5 separate regions of the Homo sapiens genome follow, and regions 2, 3, 4 and 5 are each linked to region 1. The links are contacts of gene promoters, found by promoter capture Hi-C in blood cells and fetal thymus (Javierre and others, 2016). All regions are on one chromosome and are shown on one strand. Each heading gives the region's core, a stretch centred on a gene start or on the middle of the fragment in contact. The rest is flanking DNA. Distances are from core to core; before and after follow the strand shown. Region 1 holds the start of ITLN1 (intelectin 1). Region 2 overlaps LOC105371466 (a long non-coding RNA gene). Region 3 holds the start of CD84-AS1 (CD84 antisense RNA 1). Region 4 holds the start of LOC105371467 (a long non-coding RNA gene). Region 5 overlaps SLAMF6 (SLAM family member 6).

Region 1 (4,262 bases), core at 522-3,021:
TGAATGTTTCATCACTCACCAAATGCACTAGGACATTCGTCTTTGATTTCCTTGCAGCTTCTGGGCAGAGATGGAGACGAAGAACAGGTCCATTCCTTGAAGTAAGTATTAGCCTCATCTAGGGAATACACAGGGTTTATTCTCATTCCCGGTTTGACACAAAACCTACCCTCTCCTATCACTAGTCCCACGCTCATTCCACCACTGTAGCAGAACCTCGCTGCCCGGGTGGTAAGGCCTGAGACAGCCAGTGTCATATCCACTCAGCCCATCAGTGTCACATCCACTCAGCCCATCGGCATCATATCCACTCAGCCCATCCGACCTGACAGCCAGCACAGGCTTAAAGTCTGCCTCCCGCCACAAGACCTGTCCTTGTGCTGGGTCCTGCCCTAAGCACTGAGTAATCAAAGACATTAAAGTTCCCCAGCAAGAGCTTGCCTCTAGAGGGAATTGCTAACAAGTCAACAGAAAATTGTATTGACAAGAATAAATGGTAGAAGAAAGGCAAACTCAAGAGAACAAAAGAAAGACTCTGAGGTAACAGTGGAGAATGGAAACGCCAGACAGTAAGCGGGGCAGTTGCCTGGGAGAAGAAGGCAAGACGGGTTGTCTCATGTCTTAGTCACAGAAGACCTTCCAGTCCAGGTGACATCTTAGCTTATTCTGAGAGAATAAACATGATTTATCAGTAGGAAGCCAATCCAAGGCAGGGAAAACAGCATATCCAAAGGCCTAGAGAAAAAAAAAAAAATACAGCGTAGTCCAGCTGTAGAACTACAAGCTGCTTAATATGGCTGAAACATGGGGTGTGAAGTAGGGAGTGGTGAGACTAATCTCTACTCCAAAAAGTCTGCAAACTATTCGAACAGTCTAGGGGAAAGCTGTGAGGTCAGAGGTGACTGACCTCAGTTTCCTCATACCTAAAACACAGTTAATAAACAGTGCTTTTGCAAAGATGAAGTAAGAAGATATTTCGAAACAGCCTTTTCTTTAAAAAAAAAATTTTTAGACGTGAAGAAAAATATAAATTTTAAAATGTCATTGTTATTCTTGTTGTAGAGAGGAAAACTGTGGAGAGAACATTCTCCAGGCACAAAGCAGACCATGTAGTTCCCATGGAAATCCCACAGCCAAGGCCACAGGAGTGGGCAGTGGCTGGAAGGTGACACAGTTCTTGCCACAGCCCCCTCAGGGCCACACAAAAGCACAGAGCCTGGACCCAGGACATGCCTCAAGCAATACCTTCACTGCCACAGGCCAGATTCCGCCAGAGACCAGAAATCGGCACTCAGTCTACATGCAAGCCAGCCGCTGTGCATCTCAAGGACATGCTCTGTGTCCTGGGAGAGACCAGGATCCCGGAAGTCATCCAGCTGAAGGAACTGCTGTCCCTAGCAGCGTGACTCACCTGTACTCCATCCTCTGGTGGTCGCTATGAGAAACAGCAGGAAGCTGAGTTGGTTCATTGTAATCTAAAGAAAGCAAGATGAAGGTCACCATCTTGGCCATCATTTTTCTCTACATCCCTGCCCCACCCCTGTCCAGTCTTACAAAGACTCCAAAACCCCTTGCCTTTTGTTTAAACTTCACACATCTCTGAGACCAAAAGCAGACCTAAGCTGAAAACAGGATTCCCCCAACTCACAGACCTTGTCTGAGTCTCAGCTGCACTTTCCTTGGGTACAGAGAGCTCCTTCACTCCCTCCCTCCACTGCGCCCTGGAGCTCAACAGAGTGCAGCTTTCTCCAAAAACGCTCCTGATGTGGAATGAGGTGCAGAAAGCTTTATGGAGGAAGCCCAGTGGGGCCAACCAAGGTTTCCAGCCTCACCCTCCCCTGGCACAATGCCCAGTGCAGGGGAGGCTTCTGGTTATCTCGGGGAGGTTATTTATACAGTGGAATTAACAGGTTCTAAAGAAAAAACCAATCCTAAGAATCACCTGCTAGCGTTGTTCCTGGATCTGGGGGTTTCATGGACCTGTGTCAAGTAGGAAGTAGACGAAGAGATTAACAAGAGTTGGTGTTGGTTTTGGGTTTTTGTGCCTTTCTTTCTTGCAAAATAAAAACTTTCTCTAAATTAAGCATCTGTTGGCTTGGCACATTGGCTCAAATCCCAATACTTTGGGAGGCCAAGGCAGAAGGATCACTTGAACTCAGGAGTTTGAGACCAGCCTGGGCAACATAGGGCAACCTCTTCTCTACTAAAAATAAAAGTAAAAAAATTAGCATGGCATGGTGGTACTTGCCTATAGTTTCAGGTGGGGCTGAGGCAAGGCAAAAGGGTAACTTAAGTCCCAGAGATAGAGGATTCAGTGAAATATGACCGTGCCACTGTACTTCAGCTTAGGTATCTCAAAATAAATAAATAAATGAAATTAATCATTGGCCATAATTATCAATTCATAGAAATAGAAAAAGGAAATTTTAACAAAATGGGAAAGTGATCATTTCTGAATAAATTGGTAAAAAGGAATGGAGGGGAAAGAGATACAAAACACACAAAAAAATACGAATAGAAAAGTTTTAAAAAATATATAAATCTTTAGTTTGAATAATTTAGTTTCACACAAAGACTCACTACTTTGTCTTTAATTTTGTCATTTTGCCACAAACGAGGGAAAATTTACTACAGGATTCATTTGAAACTGAATCAATACGAAACCTCTCTGCTGCTTCGAACCTCCTGTCTTATTCCTGCTCCTATGTCATGAAGTTCTCAAATGCTACCCTGCAGCTGTAATAGAATTACTCAGTTCTTCCCCAGTGATATCATACATTTAATACATAATGTCATTATAGCATTAATAATACTGCAACCTTTTCTTACAAAGATTGTGAATATCTTTTTTGTTAAGCTAATATTTCCTATTTGTTGGTTCAAAGTACTGATTTGCAAAAAATACTCACATATTGATAGAAGAAAATAAAATAGCACCCAAGAAGAAAAACTGCAAAAAAAAGTTATACTTTTGTAAATTTAAAATCTATTAGAAGCTATTTGCTCTGTGTATCTGGAAAATAATTAATTAAATAAAATTAAATGTATTAGAAACTAAATTAACTCATCAGTATAGGTAACAAAATGAACATACCCAGCTTTCATATTTACAAACAACAACCTCTTAGAAATAGAGGTCTCAGCCAGGCGCTGCGGCTTACACCTGTAATCCCAGCACTTTGAGGGGACGAGGGTGGCCAATCACTTGAGGTCAGGAGTTCAAGACCAGCCTGATCAACACGGTGAAACCGTGTCTCTACTAAAAATATAAAATTAGCTGGGCACGGTGTCAGGCGCCTGTAATCCAAGCTACTCGGGAGGCTGAGGCAGGAGAATTGCTTGAACCCGGGAGGCAGAGGTTGCAGTGAGCTGAGATCGCACCATTGCACTCCAGCCTGGGCAACAAGAGTGAAATTCCATCTCAAAAAAAAAAAAAAAAAATAGAGGTCTCTAAGTTTACAGTTCACAATAGTAAATACATGTATATAAAGTTAACACCAAGGGCCCAAGATCTAGAGAAAAAAATTAAACATCCCCTCAGTTGTTCATTACTGTGTGTAACTAACCACCTGAAAACTTTATGGCTTAATAAAACAGTAACATATTTGCAAAAATAAAAAAAGAAAATATACACTTATACTACTTTCTTTAGTTGATTCTAAGACACTTTTTTTGTATTTTGACATCTTTAATATCATTATGCATCTCATCCTTAATGGTACATGATGCCATCTAATAGACTGGGAAAACAGTACATCCATTTTAAGGACATTACCCCTTCTAACCATCATCATCCAATCAGTGATTGCGTCCCATTGATTCTACCCCTACTTCCTCTTGAATCTGTTCCCCACACAACTTCCTCCAAACCCCACTGCCCTGGACATTTATTTAGTTCAGTCTGGTTCCTTGTAGCTGTAACTAATAGAAACCCCATCTCAAAGTGGCTTTTCTAAAAAGTAAATCTATTACCTCATGAAATAGAAAATCGAGAGAGAGGGCAAGATCCAGGCTTGCTTGACAGCAGCTTCTCTTTATTTTATTTTATTTATTTATTTATGTTGAGACAGGGTCTCACTCTGTTGCCCAGGCTGGATGGAGTGCAGTGACACAATCTCAGCTTACTGCAGCCTCAACCTTCCAGGCTCAGGTGATCCTCCCACCTCAGCCTCCCAAGCACCTGGGAATACAGGCACACACCACCACACCCTGCTAACTTTTGTATTTTTGGTAGAAACGAGTTCTCACCATGTTGGCCAGGC
Region 2 (4,921 bases), core at 449-2,948, 490 kb before region 1:
ATGAGTAGATGCGTATAGTTTGGATGTACGTGTGTTGAAAGTTTGGGCTTTAAATGCACAGGGAGCACTAGGAGATAAGCCTGGAGAAGGCGAATGAGTTGGGGCCTGAAGTTTCTTATGTATGGTGCCAAAAAGTTTTGACTTTATCTTGTAGACAGTGGGAAGCCATGGATTGTTTTAGGTAAGAGAGTGACAGGCTGATTTCCCTTTCATAAAAATCACATTGGCAACATGGGAGGAAGACGGATTGGAAGGGAATGAGACATGTTTGGAAATGATAAAGGTCTGAATAAGCCAAGGGGATAGAGGTGGAAGGAAGATAATGTTGTTCCTTTTAAACCTATTACATTTAAGATACCCAAGGAATATCCAAGTTAAAATGTATGGTAGGAAGTTGAAAATTTGAGTCTTATGCTCACAAGATAGACCTGGATTTAGCAGCACTCATAAGTGAGTACTGACTGAAGCCACAGGAGTGAATGACATTGCTTTGGAAAAGCATGTGGAGTGGGGAGTAAGGGGGCCAAAGGCTGAATTCTGGGAAATAATAGTATTTGAAGTCAGGAGTAGAAAACACATTGGAAGGATGGCTGGGGTGCAAGGAGCTGAGGAGTGAAGGGAGGAAGAGAGATAGTAAAGAATCTATCCATTTTTTTTTTTTTTTTTTTTTTTTGAGATGGAGTTTCACTCTTGTTGCCCAGGCTGGCGTGCAATGGCACGAACTCGGCTCACCGCAACCTCCTCCTCCTGGGTTCAAGCGATTCTCCTGCCTCAGCCTCCCGAGTAGCTGGGATTACAAGCACCTGCCACCATGACCGGCTAATTTTGTATTTTCAGTAGAGACGGGGTTTCTCCATGTTGGTCAGGCTGGTCTCTAATTCTCGACCTCAGGTGATCCACCCGCCTCAGCCTCCCAAAGTGCTGGGATTACAGGTGTGAGCCACCAGGCCTGGCCTAAGAATCTACTCTTTTAAGAAGGTTGGATGAGAAAGAAATAAAAGCGAAGGCTAAAGCAAGAGGAGGCTGCTGAGTGGAGGAAGGTATTTCATTTTATTATGTCTGCTGGGCAAAGATCAGTGAAGAGGCCGAAGTTGGTTACAGGAGAGATTGTGAATAATGGATGGAGGTGGGAAAGGACAGGATATAACGCACACCTGCAGGGCCTAGTCCCAGCCAAGGGAGCTGGAGAGTGTCTATTCTTCCCAAGAAGGAGGAAGGAAATCAGAAAGTTTCATTCAGTGGTTCTCACATTAAAATCACTGAGGTATCTTAAAAAAAATGCCAATAGCTGGGTCACACCTCAGAAGTTTCTGGTTTAATTAGTCTGGGATGGTCCTGGGCATTGATGTGTTTTCAAAGCTTCCCAGGTGATTAAAATCTGCAGTCAAAGTTCACAACCACTGGTTTAATTGCAGGTAACATTTTAGATTAATGATAATGGGATTGGATTTGAGGAAACTCACACTTAATAAAGGTTGGATGAATAGGGAGTGGTCAAGGTTTCATAGATGAGGAAGGGAGAAAGAGAAGGAAGCTAGAAGGGAAGGCAGCTAATGCTAACTTATTGAATTTTATGTGCCAGAGATATAGAAATGAATGAGGCATGGTCCTTCTTCTTAGAGATCAGGATCTCACATGACAGACACTTCACCACAAGCCTATGACATAATACAGTTCTTGACCAGTTAAGTTTTTTTGTGTGTGAGCTACTTTTATTCTTTTTTTTTTTTTTTTTTAACTAAAAGTGAAGGGGGAAACCCCTCACACCCAGAACCCAGGTATTTCCCAATATAGACTGGGTCTGGAAATCCTTTTGTGAGCATTGAGAGTAGCCTTTCTGGGAAGGTGGGTGCTGGGGAAAGATCTGTAACTATTCCGGGAGATCAACTTGTACCCAGGCTCATCAGCAGGGCTGGAAGTAGATGGTGATTGTGGCCCTGCATGTGGGTACATTACTGCAGTCACCTGTACCTGGGAGGTGGCTAAAATTGCTAATTGCTTACATGGAAACACTTTGATGGCCATTCTGCTATAGTGTGAAGCTTCTATGAGTAAGGTACCAAGGATTCCCTTTCTCTGAGCAGCATTGTAAAAAGGCCCTACTTTTCATCAGAGCAGAAAACCTAACTTTTGCTACTGTGGTCTGGGCCTGACCTCCAGGGACAGCTTCATCCACACAGGAAGTAGGTAGGTGCTTCTCTATAGTCTGGACCTTCCCTCAGAGAGAGTCTACTGTCACTTCTTGAGTTCCTTGAATCTTCCCCAGGAGGGTCCAACTCCCAGGGCTCCTGGGAAGCCTCTGATCTGACCCCACCAGCCCCACCTCCACCTAGTGAGCTGGTGAGGTGTTGAAAGGGCTTTAATGGAGGGCCCTGGCTTTTAGCTAGGGGCCTCCTTCCCCGAGGAAGAGTACTGAAAGAAGTGTCCTAGAGAAGTGTTCTCTCCTAAGAGAAGTATCCTAGGCACAGAACAGAGAGGGGAAACTCGACTGGGAATTGACTGTGGCACTATGAGTATATGGAGGGTGTTCCTTCTGTTACCTCATTAGACCCTTTTTATATAAGCAGAAATTGAGGCTTGAAGAAATTAAGAAATTCGACTATGTCCTCAAGGACAGGAGCTGTACAAAATCCAATCTGTTCCATTCTATTGTCCCTCAGGCTCTTGGCCTCCCTCTGTTATTGTAGGTTGGCCCCTTTAGGAAAATCTCAGTTGAATGTCATTTCAGTGCTCTCCTTCCTTCTAAAGAATTAAGCTAGGTCCCTTAGACCATAGGGCACATGGGCCTTCTAGCTGGGTCTCTGTTTGCTTACTCAGTGACTTGGGGACGTGTGAAATCCAGATGGGATTCTATCCTGAGGTGAAGGTAGAAGGTAATACAGAGAATTGCTGAATGGGACAGACCACACCAATAAAATTTTTTGTTGGACTCTGTAATCCAGTGTTTTCATTGCAGAGATGTAATTGAAAGCCCCCAACCTCACCGTCAGAGAAAGGAGGGACTAAGCTTATTCTAGCCTGATGCCTGATACCTGTTAATTGGGAAGCCTTGTCTGTTAACATCCTGACTTAGGTTTCAAGCTTTCAGTGGGGCCAGACTATGGAATTATCTGTAATTCTGGCATCAGAAGCCCTTTTTCCAGTTCTTTGGGCCATTTTGGGGTCTGTGAAACAGGCTAGCAGCATGTGAAGATAATTCACACTAAATCTGCCTGAGAGTCAAGACAGTGCCACGGCAGCCCCGACTCTGTGTCAAATTACACACTAGCTGCCTAGCACTGGGGTGTGCTTTGGGGCAGGGCTGGGGACACCCATGTCCTCCCTACTTCCCTTAACCCTTCCCCAGCTCTCCTGCCACTCCCTCATACACCTGGTCGTGGTCACTGCCAGGAGCCCCAGTGCGGCCCAGTGCCTGCACATGATAGGCACAAGGTGAATGAGTGCCTGGACGCATGCAGGGACTTGGGTACCTGAAATGATGATTCTGCATATTTCATGTAGTCTTGATGCTGAGTCACCTGCTTACCCATACTACTGGAGGAGGGGATGAGGAAAGACAGAGTTTGGGCAAAGGAGAAAGGAAGTGTGTTTTACTGTTCTGCATCTTTGAACAATGCAGCATAGTTGGTTCTGTCCTCATCTTTGGACAGGTTAGAATGAACCATCAAAAGGGGTGAGATTAGGTCTCAGGAAATAGTTTTCATCAGGGAGGAGCAAAAATTCCCAAACAAGTGAGGAACAGAGGCTGGGAGTCTCTTTCTCTGGGATTCCTTAATCACAGGGTTGTTCAAGCAGGTGCCAGGATTGGAAACTGAAGGAGGCTGAGATATTGAAAAGGCCTTGGCCTGCTTAGGGAGAAGTATGTGAAGATGCTTTTGAAATGATACTACTCTAAGTGGCGGGTTGCACGGCAATAACATTAATGATAATTGAATACTGCTTTCACTTACTCCAAGGGGAACATGGACTTCCCACAGCCCAGGCTTTTACGGTGTGGGTTCACTCTTGTAGGGTCACATGTAAAAGAACCCTAACTGGTTTCTTGGCATACTGGGAGGCACAAATGCCCCAAACGTGTAGGATATTTTGTGAGATCCTACAATCCCTGTGTGGCACCTTCAACTCTAAAGTATCTGAAACTCCTGGGATGGACAATCTGCCTGCTTGGGGTTGGGGACCCAACTGGCCAAGGCATTTTTCCTCTTGGAGGTTTCCTGGGAGAAGGCCCCCTCTCCTCTGCCATTCAAACTCCCAGGCGCCCGCGTCTTTTCCTCCTCCCCTTCTTCCCTAAGGCAGGGTTCCCTTTGTAATTAATCCCAACACTCAAACCAGAGGGGAGGAAAAATGTGTTAATGAGGGAGCGTCCCAGACTGACTGGGGCGGTCGCTGCTCGCAGCTAGAACTCCAAGTAATTAAATTATTTTTGGAAGGAGGGGATATGGTGGTGATGGTGTCAGGGAAATCCCCGTATGCATGGGAAGAGGCGTGCGCCTCTCGCCACTAATTAAAATCAGGGATGACCCTCCCTTCTCGGACCCCTAGGGGGAAAAAAAAAATCAATCTTCCCACGTCCCAGATTCCATTGGATTTTGTGTAGTCGGGTCCGTGGCCCTAAAGAGAATATGGCCAGCCCCAGGGATCTGGGGGCTCCTTCTCCGACAGGAGGGGTCCAGGAAGACAGCCCCAGGAGGGACTGCGGGCTGGGCCAAGTCCAAGAATCGAGGCATTCCCCTGCCCACCGTTCGGGACCCGAGTGTCAGCCCCACCGCGGATTCCCAGGATCGGGGAGGGCCGCTGGGCATCTGAAGGCGCAGGGCTGGGGGAGCGGCGACTCCGGGAAGAGCGGGGCCGCAGACAATGGACGCGGCGGTAGGAGGGGCGGCGGCTGTGGGAACAGCCGGGAGGCGGCACCCGGGAGCTC
Region 3 (4,879 bases), core at 1,882-4,381, 350 kb before region 1:
ACTGGCCTTTCCCTCATTGAGTGCTTTTAGAGCCCTTGCCAAAGATCGTTTGACTACATATTAAAGGGTTTACTTCTGGGCTCTTGACTCTATTTCATTGGTCTGTATTTGATTACTGTACCTTTGTAGTAAGTTTTGAAATCAGGAAGTATGAGGCCTCTAACTTTCTTCTTTTTTGAGACTATTTTGGCTACTTGGTGTCCGTTTAGATTCAATATGAATTTTAGTATGAGTTTTCCTATTTGTGCAAAAAAATCTTTGGGATGTGATAGGGATTGCATTGAATCTGTAGATTGTATTGCCATCTTAATAATATTAAATCCATGAACACAGGATGTCTTTCCGTTTATGTATGTCTTCTATAATTTCTTTCAGCAATGCCTTAGAGCTTTCAGTGTACAAGTATTCCCCTACTTGGTTAAGTTTATTCCTAAGTATTTTATTCTTTTTGAAGTTATTGTAAATTAAATTGTTTTTCTTATTTTTTGGATTGTTTATTGTGAGTTTATAGAAATGGAACTGATTTTTACAGTTGATTTTGTATCCTGTAACTTTGCTGAATTTTTAATTAGCCCTAAGAGTTTTTGTGTGTGTGCTTGTGTGGATTTTATACACATGAGATTATATTATCTTTAGGATTTTATATATATGAGATTATATTATCCATGAACAGAAATCATTTTGCTTCTTCCTTTCTAATTAAGATGTCTTTTATTTCTTGTTCTTGTCTAATTTTTCTAGCTAGATCTTCTAATGCTACACTGAACACAACTGGTAAAAGTGAGCATCTTGTCTTGTTCCTAATTTTAGGAGAAAAACTTACAGTCTTTCACCATTGTATGTGATGTTAACTGTGGATTTTTAATATATGGGCTTTATTGTGTAAAAAGTTCCCTTGTATTTCTAGCTTGTTGGATAGTTTTTATCATGAAAGAATATTGAACTTTGTCAAATGCCTTTTCTGTGTCAATTAAAATGACCAGTTTTTTTCTTTCATTCTGTTAATGCAATATATTACATTGAATGATTTTTGTATGTTGAACTATCCTTGCATTCCAGGAATACATTTCACTGTCATGTTGTATAATCCTTTTAATATGCTGCTGAATTTTGTTTGCTACTTATTTTGTAAGAATTTTTATATAAATATTTATAAGGAATATTGGTTTGTAGTTTTGTTTACTTTTAGTGTCTTTGTTTGGCTTTCGTATCAGGGTAGTGCTGGTGTCACAGAGTGAATTAGGAAGTGGTCTCTTCTTGTTAAGGACTGAGTGTTTATGCCTCTACAAAATGTATATATTGAAGCTCTAACCCCCAATGTGATGATATTTGGAGATGGGGACTTTGAGAGATAATTAGGTTTGGATGAGGTCATGTGAGTGGGACCCTCATGATGAGATAAGCATACTGATAAGAAAGGAGAGACTAAAGTTCTTGCTCTCTCTCTACCACATGAGGGCGTATTGAGAAGTTGGCCACCTACAAGCCAGGGAGAGTTTCACCAGCAATTGAATCAGCTGGCACCTTGATCTTGGACATCGAAGCCTTCAGAACTGTGAGAAATAAATTTCAATTGTTTAAGCTACCAAGTCTGTGGTATTTTGTCATGGAAGACAGAGTGAATTAATATATTTATCTTCAATGTTTAGAAGAGTTTAAGAAGGATTAGTGTAAAATCTTTTAAAACTCTTTGGTGACCAGTGAAGCCTTCTGATCCAGGACTTCTCCTTGTTGGGAAGTTGTTTTAAAATTATTTACTTAATATTCTTAGTAGTTATAGGTCTAATCAGATTTTCTATTTCTTCATGATTCAGTCTTTGTAAAAATTGTGTCTACTTCATCTATGTTATCCAATTTGTTTGTAGTAGTCTCTTCTATTCATTTCTGAAAAATTGGTTGTAGTGTCCTCATTTTCATTTCCAATTTTAGTAATTTGAGCACTCTGTCTTTTTTTCCATAACCACTCTAACTAAATTTGCCAATTTCGTTGATCCTTTTAAGTAATCAACTTTTTGGTTCATTAATTTTCTCTATTTTATCTCTGGTCTAATCTTTATTATTTTCTTTATTTTGATAGCTTTGGGTTCATAGTAGTGGCACTTTCCCACTTGAGATCTGAATTAAGTGAAATAGAGACCAGTTCTTCATGGACTCCTAAGACAGATTAGAATATTGCAAATAAGATCTGTTATGTTCCCTCCCATTCAAGAGAGGGAACTGAGAAGTGAACTCCTGCCTCCTCTAAACAAGCTTTCTGTTGGGATGAGGAGGGGATGGGGCAAGGGCAAGAAAAATGCCATGGAACTTTTCCTACCATTTCAAAAGTGGCTTTTTCTTCATTGGGCATTTGATTGGTTGTTATAAAACTCTGACTGTTTTCCAGAGTCCCTATAAGGTTAATTCAACCATTTGGGTTTTTTTTTGTTTGTTTGGCTGTTTTTTTATTACTCTAAGTTGGGGGAAAGAGAGAGTTTGGAATTTCCTAGTCCACCACTTTGCTGACATCACTCTCTCTATCTCTATACTTTTACACTGATTTTTAAAAAGATGATAGAAATGTGTTCACATATTTCTTAAGTAACTAAAAATTAGTGACATTATCCAAGATCTTGGTGGATAAATAATATTCTCTCTGAAGAACCAATGCCCCTTAGAAAAATGACTGATTCTAGATGTGAGATAGCCTCTTATATGTATTTCTTGACTCACTTTACTAACAAGGATCTTCAATACAATACAGTTGAAGAGTAGCAGTGATCTTGTATTCACTGAATACAAGAATGGTTACTTGTATTCATTTCTTTATTAAGAATGCCTCTAATGTTTCCAATAAATGTTTGCTACATATGCTGTATCAAGTTGTAAAAGTTTAACCCGAGCCAGTCATTTGCTTATTTGCTCTCAGCTCTATTCCCACCCTTCTGTGTTCCTTGTTTTTCAGAAGGTTAGAAGTCTGCAAACTACATTTATCATTTCCATTGTCAGATGGCTTCTGATTAGATTTTGTCACTGGGTGGTATTGGTTAAAGTTGGATGGAAGGAATAAATTATATATTTTTCCATAATCTTGGTTTCTGGTAATGTTTTCAGTAGTGGCAGTGATAGCAGAAGATGAGTACCGCTTCAGGGTTCCTGGTGTAGCAGTGCAGTTCCAGCAAGCATGTCAGAAGTCTTGCTAGTGTGGTACTGGTGGGATCAGGCTTTGATGGTGGCATCTGCAGTGGTGAGTTATTTTTGTCTCCCAGAGTCTCACAGTTTTGATGAGACTGTGAACTCTTAGAATCTTGAAAGCTGGCAGCACTGATTCCCAAGACAAATTTCCATAGGGACAAAGTTCCATAGCAACTTCCTGGAATTATTAATTGCTTGGTAACCTCAGCTTCCCTGTTTTACTCCTCCATCACTTTTGGAATCAATTCCCTATATTCAGCTTGTTGAGTTTTCAGTATTTAACATGGTCTCAGTTTTTTAAAATTGGATATTGACTAAAACACATTCTATTTTTAGCTTTCTTGAAAACTTTTTAAATCAGTCATGGGTATTCAGTTTTATCAAATATATATTGTAGACTATGTCAGGATGATTATTTTTTTCATCTCCTTTAATCTGTTTGAACAGCAAATTACAATAGATGGTTTCTTAAAGATAAATCATCCTGGCACTCTAAGGATAAAATCCTACTTGGTCGCATTTTTTTTTCTTTTAATGCATTGCTTTAAAATTGACTGAAGTTTAAGATTTTTAACATTTATATTTATAAGTGAGATTGGACTATATCAGGATGTGGCAGACTTTTTCTGTAAAGGTCCCAGTAGTGAATATTGGACTTTGTGGACCATACAATCTCCTTTGCAACTACTCAACTCTGCTGGTGTAGTATGGAAGCAGCCATAATAAACACATAAAAGAATGCGTGTTGGCTGTGTTTCAATAAAACTTTATTTATGGATGCTGAAATTTGAATTTCACATAATTTTAACATGTCCCAAAATATTATTATTCTTTGAATTCTTTTCAACCATTTTAAAAATGTAAACTATTCTTAGTTCGTGGGTCAAATAAAAACAGATGGCAGACTGGATGTGGCCACACGCCATAGTTTGCTAACTCCTGGCCTATGTATCTCTTTGTGGGGGATCATCCTTATCTGGCTTTGGAATCAGTGTTATATTATAGTATTTAATGAATTTGGAAGCTTCCCACTGTTTTCTATGCCTTGGGACAGTTAAGATGACTGGGAATTATCCTTTCATTGTAGGTGATAGGACTAGCCCTTAAGACCATCTAGGCTGGTACACTTTTGGCAATTAGACCACTGAATATCTTTCCATTTTTTTTCAGGTTAAAGAATTTCTTCTAATTATAAACTAACTTTCTCTCTCTCTTTCTTTCTTTCCTTTCCTTTTCTTTTTTTTTTCTTTCTTTTCTTTCTTTTGAGAAAGAGTCTTGCTCTGTTGCCCAGGCTGGAGTGCAGTGGCACCATCTCAGCTCACTGCAACCTCTGCCTCCCGGGTTCAAGCAATTCTCGTGCCTCAGCCTTCCAAGTAGCTGGGACTACAGGTGTGTGCCACCACACCCGGCTTTTTTTTTTTTTTGTTTTTGTACTTTTAGTAGAGACGGGGTTTCACCATGTTGACCAGGCTGGTCTTGAACTCCTGGCCTCAAGTAATCCACCCACCTCAGCCTCCCAATACAGGCGTGAGCCACTGTGCCAGGGCTTAATTATAAATTTTCAACTTATAAGTTATTACATATACAAAGCCTTATACCACAGCAATCCATTGGTCCTTTCTGCCACCAGATGACATTAGCATGGCCAATATAACCATTATTTGTGTTTTGGAAAGATCACTCTGGTTGTGGTGTAGAGAATGGATTG
Region 4 (4,612 bases), core at 1,068-3,567, 450 kb before region 1:
AACTAAAAACAGAACTACTATATGATCCAACAATCCCACTGCTGGGTGTACGCCCAAAGAAAGGAAATCAGTATTTCGAAGAGATGTCTGCACTCCCATGTTTATGGCAGTACTATTTACCATAACCAAGATATGGAAGCAACCTAAATGTCCATCAATGGAGGAATGCATAAAGGAAATGTGGTACATATATACAATGGAATTCTGTTATTTGCAACGATATGGATGGAACTGGAGGACATTATATTAAGTAAAATAAGCCAGGCACAAAAAGACAAACATCACATGTACTCATTCACATATGGGAGCTAAAAAAAATTGAAGTTATGGAGAGAGAGACTAGAATGATGTTTACCAGAAGCTGGGGAGAATAGTAGGTACAGGGGGATAAACAGGGAGTGGTTAATGGATATAACAGTACAGTTAAATAGAATGAATAAGTTGTAGTATTTGGTAGCACAATAAGGTGACTGTAGTTAACAACAATTTATTGTATATTTAAAAATAACTAAAATAGGGGAATTGGAATGTTCTTAACACAAATAAATGATAAATAAATGCTTGAGATGATGGATACCCCAATTACCCTGATTTGATCATTACATACTATATGTCTGTATCAAAACATCATATGTGCTCTGTAAATATATACAACTATTACGTAGCCATATAATTAAAAATAAAAATGAATTTCTGAACAACTAAGGGACTGCTATTTTACTAAGACTCTGATGGCAACTGAAATAAAAGTTACAAATGAATCTTTTGTTTTAAGAATAAAATCAAAGACAGGGAGAAGAATTGGAACATCTAATGTACGCTGTGTATATGTACACATAATTGCTCGACACTAAAGAGAAGAGGACCTTTGTGGAGCCCCTCATGTTTATACCACAGAACCCATACCTGGTACTTGCTATTTCTCAGCTGCCATGGTTCTTTCTGAGGGCAGCGTCTTGCCAAAGCTTACCAACCGTTTCTGAAATAGTATTTACTATTTGAGGAGAGCTCTGAGTTAAGCATTTTCAGTTCAGATGTTGTTTTCCCCTTGAATTTTCAGCAAACCATGTGGAACCTCTGCTTCCTCAGATTCCTGGTATGGTGCCATATTGTGGTCAAAGAGATGTCCAAGAAGTCCTGTTTGCCTCAGATAGTACCTCACAGAGTGTCAGTATCTTAGGAGGTCATTACTGGTCCAGACATTCTGTCTTCATTAAGTAATCAAAGGGAAATAACATTCTGGAAATGGAATAAAACCAGCCATACATATAAAAGAGCAATTATAAATAAGAATGTTAATTTATCAATTTATAACAACTGATAGATCTAGTTTGGGAACTGGAGTTGGTCATTTGTACAGGTATATTCCTGATGGGACAGTTCAAATTGATAAATTAGCATTTGTCTATTAAATACAGAACCAGACAGGAGGAATTGGAAATTCTGAAGGACATCATTAAATGTTGCAGTACTTCAGTCCCCTTTTCTCTTTTCTACATACTACCCATGGGTATCCTCATCTCATCCCAAGGCTTTAAATACCGTCTGTGTACCAGATAGCACAGCATAGTAGTAATGAACATGGGCTCTGGGGTCAACCTGCCTGGGTTTTTCTTCTGGTTTTGCTCCCAGTAGCTATGTGGCCTTGAGGAAATTTTCTGTTTCTTTATCTTTAAAATGAAGACAATAACACAGTGCCAACCTCACAGGGATGTTGGGAGTGTAACTCAGAAAATATTCATAAACTACTTAGATATGCCTGGCATGTAGTAAGTACCCAATAAATGTTAGTTATATACCAAGTACTCCCAAATCTCTATTTCTTGCCCTGACTTCTCCCCAGAATTCTAGACTTATAAATCTAAGTGCTTATTTGACATCTTCACAAAGACATCTAAGAGATATTTCACACTTACTATAGAAATTAGTAGCCTAGGGAGATAAAGATAATGTTTGTCTGTGGGGCAGAGAGCAATGATTTTACCAGGCTCTTGAGTACGGATCTGTGTCAGTAAGCAATCTGCGCTTACTTTCAGTTTCAAGTGACTGGTGGTGATCCAGGTTCACGTAAACAAATTCTGTTTGTGGTCTACCCAAACATCTATATCCTCACTACCAACACCATTTATTTTAGCTGTGGGGACCCCTTAACTAGTGGCCACTGCCTTATTGCTTGTTGGCTTGTGCCATGGGGCTTACTGTTTCATCATAATAATAGCCCTCCCTCCTTCTGCCCAGAGGAGAAAGAACAAATACCATTTGGACAGCTTGCTTCAATCCAAACTAATACCCCTCAGCCCCATTAACAGGTAGAACAGTGGGTATCCTCATTCTCCACCTCTCACTCACTACTTGGATGAGAACAGTCACTACTGGATCCCCAGGAGTCTCTCAGATCTTCCAAACAGGCCTGCAAAAGGGCCATTGTACTTTCCTCTTCCCGAAAGCCCTATCTCTGTCAGCATCTCGTCCTCATTGCCAGAACTTCCAACAACTATGAAAAGCCTGAGATTTTATGCCACTTCTAAACTAATAAGTTTGTCTGTTAGTTTCATGGGTACTGACAAAAAACATGAGACTCCTGGGTCAGAGACAAAGGACTTTATTACACTTGGCCCAGCAGGTAGCATGAACTTCATATTTGCATTAGTTCTCCTTGCCTCTAAGTTCCACTGGGTGATACGGAGCAGCCAATCTGGATGCTCTGCATACAGTAAGTTTATGTCATGGTTGAGGAACCCTGGGATTAGGAAACCCTAGTATTTTAAAGAGCGTTTACTTGAGACACAAATATCTTAATACTGTGACCACTTTATGTAGTTCTTTCCCAGACTTCCTTTTTACTGCTTTTCCAATATTGTTTTTCATTTAAGTGACTGACAAGGTGGTCAACCTGTTAACATGCTGCCCATGATTCAATGTAGATATGTACCTCAGGCAATCTCTCCTTCCAAACAAAGTGTACAACTAGATATGCTGCTTCAAGTTCTGCCTGCTGGAGAGATTTTCTTTCATTACTGACTTTGAAGCCTCTACTGAGTGAGGTTCACTGTAGTGGAGAGGCCATTCTCATTCATCTGGGGCTGACATAGCATGCAAATCCAGGCCCATGCTCTTTCTTCCTCCATTAACTGTTCATAGGGAATTCCTCATGAGGCCGTCGGTGTAGAGCAAGGGAGAGGTGGAAGAGTAGCTGGAATTACAAAGTCCCCTGCTTATGCAGCATACTTGTGTATTCTGGACCTGTTCAGACCCATTTTTGTATATTCCACTTCTGTTTTATAATGAATTCCTGTTAGGTAATTCAGTTTTATATTTGGTGGTTCAGAAAACACCCAGTTCATGATGGACAGTTTGCGTTGCATGATAATTTGGTGTCCCGAGGCAGACATTCAATTTCTACCAGCTCTCAGAAGCAAGCTAGGAATTGCTTTTCAAATGGCGAAAGGTTGTCAGCACAAGTGGACATCAGCTTACTGCAAATCTCCTGGGGGGATATCAAAGACTTCCAAGGAGGAAAAAAATCAATCTAAATTCGATTACAAAGAAATGCAAGAGACTCCAGGCCTCAATTTCTTTGCTTTGTATAAAGGTAAAAATGATAGATTTATTACAATTTGAGTTATAAATTTAAATTTACAATTTAGTTACAATTTTAAAAGGCTAAAAGAAGCTTTTTTGTACCAAGCTGTAGAAAGTTTTAGTATAATTTGGTAAAACGATAAGAGAACTTAATTTTAATTAAGTTTTACTTACACTCCTAATAAAAAGAAACCATGTAATAAATTAAATTATTTTGTGAATTTGGGGTTAAATTATGTCTACCTTTTTTTGCTGTTTTTTCCACAGCATGAAATAAAAATGCAAGCATGGCATATTAATTAATTCAATAATTTGTATTTCTGTTTTAACAAAAAACTAAATTAAATGGAACTATCTAAATTTCAGTTGAATTAAGATAGTTAATTAAGATAGTTCTAAGATAGTTAATTAGAACTAATTAACAATTGTCCTATAAGTGAAATAAGTAATTATCGCCTATCCATTATTTAAAAATATGTAAATCTAAACATAGATATATGCAACTACATTGAGTTATAATTTAAATAAGTGGTATATCTGTATAACCGGTTCTTTTATAGAAATCTTAGGCAATATTGCAGATTATATAGACCTACAGAGCTAATCCATTTATACTGTACGTGTACAGTTTTAAGGTGTTATTGGTTTTCTGACCTTTTCTTTCCTTCCTTTGTTCCTTCCTTCCTTCTCTTGCTTTTTCTTTTTCTTTTTTTTTTTTTTTTTTTTTTTTGACAAGCTCTCACTGTGTTGCCCAGACTGGAGTGCAGTGGCAGGATCATGATTCGCTGCAGCCTCAACTCCTGGGCTCAAGCAGGAGTCCAGCTAATTTTCTATTTTTCTTTTCTTGCAGAGACAAGGTCTTGCTATATTGCCCAGGCTGGTCTTGAAGACCCAGTCTCAAGCGATCCTCCTGTCTCAGCTTCCCAAAGTACTGGGATTACAGGCCTGAGCCACTGTGCCCAACCCCATTTCTTAATAGTGTATTGCACCTGAATATTGATTTAAATATACTTTTGAAGTTTCTTAATGG
Region 5 (4,635 bases), core at 1,766-4,265, 400 kb before region 1:
ATTAACTTTGATGAGCTTTGTTTTTTTCTATTCTTTTCAGCCATTATTTCAGTTTTTCCCCATTCCAACTCTCCAACCCCTTCCCTTTGAATCCTGTGGTCTTGAGAGCTGATCTCTGTCACGTCTTGTTGTGCTGAAGGTTTGTGAGATGATTCTGTGTAATTCAGTAATAATTAATTTTTACTATTATTAATTTATACTAATTGTATCAGTAATTATACCAACAATGCTGACTGACATTTATTGAGCTCCTTTATGTGGCTGAGAGCTATGCTAAGGACTCCAGGTGTATTGTCTTATTTCATTTTCACAAAACCCCATTACATATTCATTTATTTATTAAAAAATTTTTTTGAACACTTGCTATATGCTAGATACTGTGTTAGGTGCTAGGGTTACGGTGATAAACAAAACAGTTATTGTCTCTGTTTCTGAAGAGCTTAGGGTATAGTGGGAGAAATAGATGTTAAAAAAGTAAAAATAAATATTTAATGATATGATAAATGACATAGAAGGTGTAACAGAATAATAAGATCTATTTCATTTTATTTTATTTATTTATTTTTTGAGACAGAGTCTCACTCTGTCACCCAGACTGGAATACATTGGCATGATTTTGGCTCACTGGAACCTCCACCTCCTGGGTTCAAGCGATTCTCCTGCCTCAGTCTCTCAAGTAGCTGGGATTTTAGGGGTGCACCACCACGCCTGGCTAATTTTTTTGTATTTTTAGTAAAGACGGGGTTTCACCAAGTTGGCCAGGCTGGTCTTGAACTCCTGACCTCAAGTGATCTCCCCCCTTGGCCTCCCAAAGTACAGGGATTACAGGTGTGAGCCACCATGCCCAGCCTAGAAGATTCATTTTAGAAAGAGTGGTCTGGGAAGGTTTCTCTTAGGAGGTGACATATTTAAAATTAAACCTAAAGAATAGGAGGACCCCAGCAGGCAGAGGAAGGGCCTGCAGGAAGATGTAAATAATTAACATAAAGAACTTTTCCTTTAATAGAGGAGCTGAAAGAAGATCAGGGAGGCTACATAGAGAGTGTCAGAAGGGTAATGCTAGCTGAGGCTGGAGGTGGGCCAGACCATCCAGGGCCATGGAAACTGGATTTCTTTCTGAGTGCATTGGGAAACCTGCAGGGTTTTAAGCAGGAAACTGAAGGATCCAATTTATATTAAAAACATTACTCTGGCCATCTTGTGGAGAGTGGGTTGGAGAGGGACAAGAACAAAAGTGAGGACAACTGTTCTGATCTTAAGGTAGGATTCAGGTTAGAGGTGGTGATGGTTGGATACAGGATGGTGGTCAAGGAGTTGGAGGAGAAGTGGAAGGTCCAAGAAATATTTCTGAGGTAGAGTCCAAAGGGCCTGGTGACAAAGACACTGGAGTCAGGGATGACTTAGATTCTTGGCTCAAACAATGGAGCTGATGTAATACCATCCTCTTCCTTTTTCAGTCTGGGAGACTAAGGCTCCAAAAGGTTAGGCAGTATGTCCCAGGAGATGTGTCTAATAAACATTGTACAAGTTGAGCATCCCAAATCCAAAAATCCAATATCCAAAATGCTCCAAAATCTGAGATTTTGAGCACTGCATCGACATCAATGAAACTCAAGGGAAATGCTTATTGGAGCATTTTGAATTTTGGATTTTTGGATTTGGATACTCAACCGCTAAATATAATGCAAATATTCCAAAATCTGAAAAAAAATTGAAATCTGAAACATTTCTAATCCCAAGCATTTCAGACAAGGGATGCTCAACTTGTATCAGGATGGGCCCATCCAACTCCAGAGACTACACATGTAACCAACACACTGCATTATTTCTCAATAAGTCAATCCTGCTGCTTTCTAAAAGGAGAGAAGTGGTTGTCTTCTGGATCATAAACTCTCTGTCAACCATAATTCCATTTGCTTAGTTATCAAAGAGAGAGTCAATGTGCTGGTGTGTTATCTTTAGCATGTTTTGGCCTGAAGTGGATTGGAAAATATTATTTGAACCACATGCTGGAAATGATGTTATCCTTAGGTGTTTGACTCAGGTAGGCAGGTTTAAGTCCGAAGGACTGGAGGTGATCATCCTATCCTAGATATTCAAATTCTGTTGCCAGGAACAACAGGAACCAAGCTTCCTGTTCTTTGTTCTGTCTCATGGGATCAGAAGACGTGTCATTCCCGAATTCCTCTGAGGCCTTTCAGCAACTTACACGACATTGTCAAGGGCAGTTGCCCTGGAAAAAGTGGGTTTACTCTGTGGGAAAAAGAGGAAGATGAGGTAGGTTAATTGGAACTGGAACCTCAGCCCACCCCTCATAACTACAGAGAGAGGACTGGAGACTACAGAGAGGCAGATAATAGAGATATTGATAGCATAGGGCAGGATTAAATTTAAAAACATGTAATTGAAAACTCAGTTATGCATGGTGATCCTAATACAAAATAACTTCTTGATTATGTTTTGGTGATGTCCTGAGACTTTCCGCATGCTGCTGCTGTTTGTGCATCTGTAAAATGACCCTTTTATTTTTACTTTATTTGAAAAATCATAGGTCTGTGGAGAGAGGTAAGAATATAAAAACATGGAGCAATCGTGGGCTTACCTCTTTGGAATGATTAATTGTGGAGTAAATTGTGATAGTATCATTTTCTCTAGGTGTCCAGATTTCTGTTTCCTGTAAAAAGAATCATACCAATTTGGCTTACACAGAGACAAAGAGATTAATGCATAGATATATTCTTAGGAAAGACTGTGTGACAAAAAAGAGAATATGTCAAAGTTCTTCCAGAGGAAGGCTGGGGAATGTTCAGTGGAAGACCAAGCACGACTAGCTATCAAACTTGTGAGGATTTAGTGGCATTTCCTGAGCCCCAAACAGAACAGCAACACTGCAGCAAACCAATGGGCTCAAGAGCCAGAGAAAGGCAGCCTTGCTGTATGAAGGGAAGGAAGTATTCTTGTCCTTTGTCCAGCTCTACTTTCCTTCCTCCATTTTTAAGAAAAAACTTATATACCAGATAGTTTATTATATGTTTTGTCTCAAATTTTTACTAGCTATGACTGAAACTACCCATTTTGCCTGCTCCATCTTTTGCTATAATTCTAACTGCCTTGTCATCATGTCATTGGGGTCTTCTCAAGCATGGGGAATTGGTAGAATAGGAACACTTGGCCTTAAGAATGGCTCTGCCTGGAATGCACATTACAGAAATAATAGCAGAAGTCCCTACGGCCCTCAAAGAACCTACTCAAAGATTTTGACACTTTAAATTAATGAAGAAGTATTTAGAGAATTATCAAGATCTCTACTGGGCACAGTGGCTCATGCCTGTAAACCCAACACTTTGGGAGGACGAGGCAGGCGGATCACTTGAGCGCAGAAGTTTGAGACCAGCCTGGGCAACATGGTGAAACCCCGTCTCTACAAAAAGTAGAAAAATTATCCTGATGTGATGGTGCTCGCCTGTAGTCGCAGCTACTTGGGAGGCCAAGGTAAAAGGATCACCTGAGCATGAGGAGGTTGAGGCTGCAGTGAGCTGTGATTGTGCTACTGCACTCAGCCCTTGGTGACAGAGTGACACTCTGTCTCAAAAAAAAAAAAAAACCAAAAAACAAAAAACAAACCAACAAAAAACAAAAAAACCTCAAACTCTCCAAAGCACATTTTTTTTTTCTTTTTGCTAAAGAGAAAGCTAACCAATTTGTGGGAAATTAGTTTTTTGATTTGTCAGAGTGTGAGTTGACTTGTTTTCAGGAGGAATTTGCAAAGGCAAAAGAAATGTCTGAGCAAGTGAGAGTACCCCTTCTTGCTTCCTGTCATCAAGGATCATACTTTGCAAATATAGGTGAAGGGAATCCAAGATTTCTAGCTAGATCATTGCTTACATCATTTTGAAAATGCTAAGCTTTCCTGGCTTATTTTTCAGAAAACTGGCCTCTCAAAATGTATGGTATTATTTAGAGATGTGCCACCTGCAGGTCCTTTATTTAGGGGTGGTGGGGAGTTGCTGATACATGACAGATGAGTTGCTGATGCTTGACCAGCCATCCTGTTATGCTGCTAGATGAGAGGGGAGGGGTGAACCATTGCTCATGGTTTAGTGGCCTCTACTGTGCCCCCTTCCCCTCTTGAGAGACTACTTCTGAACTCCCCTAAGACCCCTACATGCAGAGTGAGAAGTCAGCCACCTGCTATGGAACTACGTCCATAGGAAACTTTCAAACTTAGTGGAACTCTGACCCATTCAGCAAGTATTTACTGATCATTATGCTAGGATATAGGGCAAGAGAGAGGAAGACATAATTTGTACTTTCAGTCAGCTTGTAATTAAGCTGAAGGGACAAGACTTACTGATGCATCAAGCGGTTGGAGAACTGTGTAAGGCAGGGTATGAATAAACATTCCCTTAAGGGTGAGAAAGGCAGACACCAGAGTGGTCTAGCGCATAACTTTGCAGCCCCTGTCGCTGTGGCTGTCTTCTCCTCCCCTCAGTGGTCATTTGTTCAGTCAGATGGTTATGGTGACAAGTTTGTGAACAATGGCTGTAAAACTGACAACAATGGCATATAAAGCTGAAAAGACTCACCCTGTTTGAATGAGTGACTGAAGCATACACAGTGTTGTTCGTTGGAGAC

What was found. The method cuts DNA at HindIII sites, captures the fragments that hold promoters and counts their contacts. A CHiCAGO score of 5 or more calls a contact.
Region 2: a contact is called between a fragment that was not itself captured here and the fragment with the promoter of ITLN1 in region 1, in 2 of 17 cell types (non-activated CD4 T cells and activated CD4 T cells). The highest score is 9.7, in non-activated CD4 T cells.
Region 3: the fragment with the promoter of CD84-AS1 here is called in contact with the fragment with the promoter of ITLN1 in region 1 in 16 of 17 cell types (total CD4 T cells, naive CD8 T cells, monocytes and 13 more); the score reaches 18.4 in total CD4 T cells.
Region 4: a contact is called between a fragment that was not itself captured here and the fragment with the promoter of ITLN1 in region 1, in 3 of 17 cell types (erythroblasts, M2 macrophages and fetal thymus). The highest score is 6.0, in erythroblasts.
Region 5: a fragment that was not itself captured here is called in contact with the fragment with the promoter of ITLN1 in region 1 in 1 of 17 cell types (fetal thymus); the score reaches 5.1 in fetal thymus.

Annotation. Positions count from the first base shown.
Region 1 is chr1:160,883,409-160,887,670 of GRCh38, forward strand. ITLN1 (intelectin 1) reads right to left here and starts at 1,772. Exons shown (of 8, transcript NM_017625.3): 1 at 1,653-1,772; 2 at 1,412-1,475; 3 at 20-118. The coding sequence starts at 1,469. The HindIII fragment of the contact is 4,692 bases long and covers 1-1,783 here.
Region 2 is chr1:160,395,584-160,400,504 of GRCh38, forward strand. All of the region lies in intron 3 of LOC105371466 (a long non-coding RNA gene), which reads right to left. Among named protein-coding and RNA genes, the nearest start is that of VANGL2, 2.5 kb to the right of the region's middle. The HindIII fragment of the contact is 683 bases long and covers 1,358-2,040 here.
Region 3 is chr1:160,533,965-160,538,843 of GRCh38, forward strand. CD84-AS1 (CD84 antisense RNA 1) reads left to right here and starts at 3,132. Exons shown (of 2, transcript NR_188634.1): 1 at 3,132-3,223. The HindIII fragment of the contact is 1,945 bases long and covers 2,249-4,193 here.
Region 4 is chr1:160,436,052-160,440,663 of GRCh38, forward strand. It overlaps LOC105371467 (a long non-coding RNA gene), which reads right to left and starts at 2,126. Exons shown (of 3, transcript XR_922202.3): 1 at 2,031-2,126; 2 at 907-1,239. The HindIII fragment of the contact is 2,708 bases long and covers 964-3,671 here.
Region 5 is chr1:160,484,502-160,489,136 of GRCh38, forward strand. SLAMF6 (SLAM family member 6) reads right to left here. Exons shown (of 8, transcript NM_001184714.2): 6 at 4,587-4,635; 7 at 2,603-2,674; 8 at 535-2,253. The coding sequence ends at 2,206. Among named protein-coding and RNA genes, the nearest start is that of SLAMF6, 36 kb to the right of the region's middle. The HindIII fragment of the contact is 1,775 bases long and covers 2,129-3,903 here.